2 separate regions of the Homo sapiens genome follow, and region 2 is linked to region 1. Evidence: promoter capture Hi-C in human tissues and cell types (Jung and others, 2019). All regions are on one chromosome and are shown on one strand. The core of a region is centred on a gene start or on the middle of the fragment in contact, and the rest is flanking DNA. Distances in the headings are between cores, read along the strand shown.

The links. The method cuts DNA at HindIII sites, captures the fragments that hold promoters and counts their contacts. A contact is called where the count stands out against the background at its distance.
Region 2: a contact is called between a fragment that was not itself captured here and the fragment with the promoter of STAMBP in region 1, in 1 of the 25 tissues and cell types used here (hippocampus).

Annotation. Positions count from the first base shown.
Region 1 is chr2:73,827,611-73,830,466 of GRCh38, forward strand. It overlaps STAMBP (STAM binding protein), which reads left to right and starts at 1,351. Exons shown (of 10, transcript NM_213622.4): 1 at 1,351-1,900. LOC105374807 (a long non-coding RNA gene) reads right to left here and starts at 2,788. Exons shown (of 3, transcript XR_940246.3): 1 at 2,706-2,788; 2 at 1,147-1,294. RefSeq lists a silencer at 1,122-1,340 and an enhancer at 2,848-2,856. The HindIII fragment of the contact is 10,781 bases long and covers 1-2,856 here.
Region 2 is chr2:73,774,894-73,777,749 of GRCh38, forward strand. DUSP11 (dual specificity phosphatase 11) reads right to left here. Exons shown (of 9, transcript NM_003584.3): 3 at 20-151. Among named protein-coding and RNA genes, the nearest start is that of DUSP11, 3.8 kb to the right of the region's middle. The HindIII fragment of the contact is 4,714 bases long and covers 1-2,856 here.

The DNA of each region.
Region 1 (2,856 bases), core at 101-2,600:
CAATTTCTTTAGGCCCAACCCATCATGTTTACATTCTGAAGAGAGTCAGTAGAGAGAGTTTTGAAGACACAGTAGAGTGCCCTATACAATTATCTTCCCAGATTTATCTGCAGTAGATCCATGAGAGTTGATAGTAGACCCATGCACATTAATGCTTGCTGGGGGCAGAAGGGGAGGTGATATGATGCAAGCAAGTACTTTCAACCCTAAGTCTGAAAAGTTGATGACTACACAAAATCACTTCAGGTAACTCCAACAGAAATATACACAACGGAGGTTGGGAGAAATGAGAGATCTGGAGGCTGGCTAGGTGGAGGAGGCAACACCTGAATTAGGGATTTAAGCTAGACCTTGAAGAATAGGTCATGCCATCACACTAACAAACTCACAGGGAGGCTCCCAAATTTTGGGAAAGTGTCCCCCAGAGACTTAGACTTTTAAACCAAAGCCTAATGTTTCACAAAGTCTTCTGAGACAGAATGATTAGCAAGCTTGTAGGACCTTTTTGTAAAGAGGATGTATATGGATTCGTACAGACACACATCTACATGCAGAACGTGCCATTCTGTATTTGATGCATAAAACCACCTTGTCCCGGTCTCAGGGCAGGAACAGTGTCATACAGATTTTTGTGTCTCCACTGCTTTTGCATAGCGGCTCTTAGAGATTAAACGCTTTTTTTCCAAATATTTTATAGGTTTTTTGACATTAAAACGTTAGTCTCATCTGGGTGCGGTGGCACACGCCAGTAATCCCAGTACTTTGGGAGGCAGAGGCAAGAAGATCGCTTGAGCCCTGAAGTTGGAGACCACAGTGAGCTATGATCACACCACTGCACTCCTGTGACAGCCTGGGTGACACCGCAAGACCCTGTCTTAAAAAAAAAAAAAGTTAGACTTATGTTCTTTTCTAAGCAATAAAATTAGTCTTAGATATTGCCTAATATCTAAGACTACCAATTTTTGTGTAGAATGTAATACAAGCTAAAAAATACATTCGAAAGACTTTCTGTCCCCCAATTTATAAATCCTGGTTAGTTTAGCTAAGTCTGCAGTTGTGCTGGGATCAGCAATCCCTCCTTAAATGCAGGAGTATTGTGAGTGTGATGAGGGACTACCCCAAATCAAAATAATTTTAAAAGCAAACCTTAGCTTGCTAATTGGTTCCACTTTCTTCCTTGTTCCTTTTCCTTTACCAAGATGGCCGCTGTGTCGTTCGCTCCTCATTGGTCGGATTTTCCGCAGGTGCCGATTCTAGCCCCACCTACTAGCTCTCCGTTCCAAGTCCTAAATCACTGGGAATGTAATAGACAGACGAACGGGAGTGGGCGGAGCGGGCGCCGGATGTGACGTTTCCGGAACCTCCGGGTGTCATCCGCGGGGAAAGGTGGGGAAGGGTCCCGGGAACGTGGTGGGGCAGGGCCTCCGAGCGTGGTTGGACTTTGAAGGGGATCGGCCGCCGTGAGTGTGGGGCCTGCAGCCTACTCTCCCCGAGTCCCCTGCCCGGCCTGCCTCGCTCGAGGCACCCGACGGCTTCTGTCTCCGCGGGCTGGCGCCTGACCAGCCAGGCCCAGCGGTTCCCCGCCTACTGCATTTGAAAGATCCCGAAAACCCTGGATGATTGTGCCTGGGGTTGGCAAGTTCGTCTTGAGTGCCTTCAAGAAGGGTTCCTCAAGCAGTTGTCGATAGAGCCCTCCCTACTGTATACGCCCCCTCCGCTCATTCCTGCTACTTCCTTTCTCCTCCTCGTATTTCCCCCTCGGTCCTTTACGCCGCCTTTCCCCCTCATTTGCAGATGCTGCATCCCCTTTTTGGAATTGCTCAACCAGGTGGTAACCGGCGCCGCTTCCTGGCCTTGGGAGGTGGTTCCTTTCTTAACCCACAAGAACCTCTCCCAAGAGGTACTGAGATGCAACAAGCATCCTCTGTTTCAGTTAACTTTCATGGGCCGTGGACTAGGTTTACTAATTACTTGGGGAGGTTTTAGATATGCTTGCGGCTTTCTGAGTCCCTAAGGAGGCCTCGTGAGAGATGGACTATCTCTGCATCCCTAGTAGTCCTCACGGCTTTTGTGCTATTAGTGAGGGTGTTTTAGAGGGGAAGGTTTGTGGAGGAATTGTGACCCGAATATTGAAGAGACCTAAAGATGGAATTGGCTGAGAGAAGACTACCCCTGAGGGAAGAGTTGTAGTAGAAAAGAAAAACTGGATAGATAAATGAAACTGAAATGTGAGGATGCCTGGGCGGATTGGAATCCTGACTGAAGCAAAAGATCTCTGTTGGGGAGGGCCAGTTGCCACAGGGCCTTGAATTCCAAGATTTATTCTACTGTAGTTTGTGTATTCTAGAGCATACTGATTAGGGTTTGCTGTAATGCAATGTGTGTCAAATGCCCAGTTTTATTTTGGAGATGATAGTGGTGATATCTGGTTGGAATTTGGAATCTGATTCTAACAGCAACTATATCTAGAAAGACTAGAATTACTGGAGTTTTGGGACACCAGGGGTTTTTGCAATGCAAGTTACCATCGTGCCTTTTTGTTATTCAGTGTTTAGTCTATGAAGATGAGTAAATGGTTGTTTTCAAGATTTAAGTCTCTTGCCATGATAATGATGAATGAATGATTTTATAGATTGACTATAGTGGTTTAGTGAGCAGAGTTACAATTATGAGCATTAATTCCCAGACCAGTTCCCCTAACTCACCTTGTGCTCAAATATGAAAAAGGATACCACAGAAAATGTCAGTTACTCTCAGATTAAGTAAAAATGGTCAACCTTGAAGTTAGTTAACAATCCTCAAGAAAGTTCACTGAGTGCACTCTGCCAGGTACTGGGGTGGAGGTATGTGGGTATC
Region 2 (2,856 bases), core at 138-2,637, 53 kb before region 1:
ATTGAAGGGTTCCACTTACCTCTGGTTTATAATAGCGTTGAGTATATGTTAAATCAATAATCAGTCCAAGTTCTTCATTTTGTTCTCGGATTTTGTTAAAAAGATCCAAAGGGGAAAAGCATTCTTCTGGAGCAAGTTTCTTTTCAAAACTCTGTCACAGAGAATGAAATAAGAGCAAATATGTGCTTAAAATCCTGTACTACATTAGGCATTTATTCAAGTCCTGTGATGCTAACATACAACGAGATTCAAAGGAAAGTTTCCATTCTCCTGGAACATAGAAGGTATATTACAACAATCCTTTCTTCCAGAGTGGTCAGAAAGAAAAAAATAAGCCCACTTCTATATATGTATTTCTGTATTTGTTTCATGTTGGTCTCCTAATCAGACTGTAATCTCCCAGATTTTATTCACCACTGTATCTCCAGCTCCAGGTGGAGTGCTTATCATATTTAGTGCTTATAAATATTTCTTTTCTTTTTTTTTTTTTTTTTTTGAAACAGGGTGTTGCTCTGTCATCCGTCATCCAGGCTGGAGTGCAGTGACACAAACATGGCTCACTGCAGCCTCCACCTCCTGGGCTCAAGCAATACTCCCACCTCAACCTCACAAGTAGCTGGGACTACAGGCATGAACCACCACACCTGGCCTTTTTTTTTTTTTTTTAAAGAGATAGGGTCAGCTGGGCGCAGTGGTTCACACCTGTAATCCCAGCACTTTGGGAGGCCAAGGCGGGAGGATCACAAGGTCAGGAGATCGAGACCATCCTGGCTAACACTGTGAAACCCCGTCTCTACTAAAAATACAAAAAATTAGCCAGGGGTGGTGGCAGGCGCCTGTAGTCCCAGCTACCGGGAGGCTGAGGCAGGAGAATGGCGTGAACCCGGGAGGCAGAGCTTGCAGTGAGCCGAGATCACACCACTGCACTCCAGCCTGGGTGACAGAGTGACTCCATCTCAAAAAAAAAATTTAAAAAAAAAAAAAAAAAAAAAAAAGAGATAGGGTCTTGCCGTCTTGCCATGTAGCCCAGGCTGATCTCAAACTCCTGAGCTCAAGCAACCCTCCTGTCTCGGCCTCACAAATAAATATTTCTCACATGTCTACATATATGAAGGATGGCTTTCATTGCTGAATATTCTTTTATGTATGTGGCTTATTTTTGAACTTTATGCTCTGTTCCTTCAATCTGTCTGGCTACTCAGGTGCCAGCAATGTACTTTTTAAAAAATAGACTAGTTTGGCTGGGTGCGGTGGCTCAAGCCTGTAATCCCAGCACTTTGGGAGGCCGAGGCAGGAGGATCACGAGGTCAGGAGATCGAGACCATCCTGGCTAACACGGTGAAACCCCATCTCTACTAAAAACACAAAAAAATTAGCCAGGCGTGGTGGCAGGCGCCGGTAGTTCCAGCTACTCAGGAGGCAGAGGCAGGAGAATGGCGTGAACCCAGGAGGCAGAGCTTGCAGTGAACCAAGATCACACCACTGCACTCCAGCCTGGGCGACAAGCGAGACACCATCTCAAAAAAAAAAAAAAAAAAATAGACTAGTTTTCAGAGCAGTTTTAGGTTCACAGCAAAACTGAGCCAAAAGGACAGATAGTTCCCACATGTACTTTGCCTTCCCCAACCCACCCAGACTCCCCCACTATCCACATTCCATACCAGTGTGGTCCATTTGTTACAAATGAAGAACCAACTCTGACACATCGTTATCACCAAAGTCTAGAGGTTAGGTATGCGTGATTCATTCTATGTTATGCATTGTATGTACATATTATGTTATATATATTTTGCCACAAAAAAAATGAGAGAAAGAACTAAGTTCAAGTTTTGATTCTTCCTTTTCTGAGCCTGTTTGATTATCTACAAAATTATTTATTAGATGTAACCATCTATTCTCTGAGCTTAGTGCAGAATAAGCACTCAGTAAGAGATATTAGTACTACTGCTACTTCATCAGCACAGGATTGTTGTGAAATGTGTTAATATACGTGAAGCCCTTTTATAGGTTTTGATCAATATATAACATGTATCCACCCTTAGAGTATCACACAGAATAGTTTCACTTCCCTAAAAATTCCCTGTGTCTCCAACACCTTCTTTTTGGAGACAGGGTCTTGCTCTGTTGCCCAGGCTGGAGTACAGTGGCATGATCATGGCTCACTGCAGCCTTGACCTCCTGGGTTCAATCGATCCTCCCACTTCAGCCTCCTGAGCAGCTGAGACTACAAGCACACGCCACCGCGCCTGGTTAATTTTTGTATTTTTTGTAGAGACACGGTTTCAGTGTTGCCCAGGCTGGTCTAAAACTCCTGGACTCAAGCGATACACCCACCTTGCCTCCCAAAGTACTGGATTACAAACATGATCCAACAGGCCTGGCCTGAAATGACTCATTTTTAAGCCCAGACATGCAGAGAAGCTGACACAGCAGTTGAAAAAGGAAATCTGATCTATAAGTCACAAATTAAGTAAATTCCCAAAACGTTTCAAGTAGGCTTCTCCTGATACTAATCTGAGCTATGCTGGGGAAGTCTAATAAGAAAGACATGGAATCTAGAAAACAATTATTTGTCTTCACCTTCTCATCTTTTTTATGGCTGTCAAAAGCTTTCCCCTCCTATCCCTCCTATTCCTTTCCTAGTTTAAACAAAAATACAATCTTCAGATTTTCCCCACTGAAATCCTGACCTTGATGATCCGGGGGATATTTCTGATTGTGACCATGGAAGGAAAGGAGTCCCACTGGCATTCAGTGGGTAAGGGTTACAAATTCTAAACAACTTGCCAAATTCAGGACAGTCCTACAAATGTGTCCCACATCCTGAATGGCTTTTGGATGTCCTATTCAAGATTA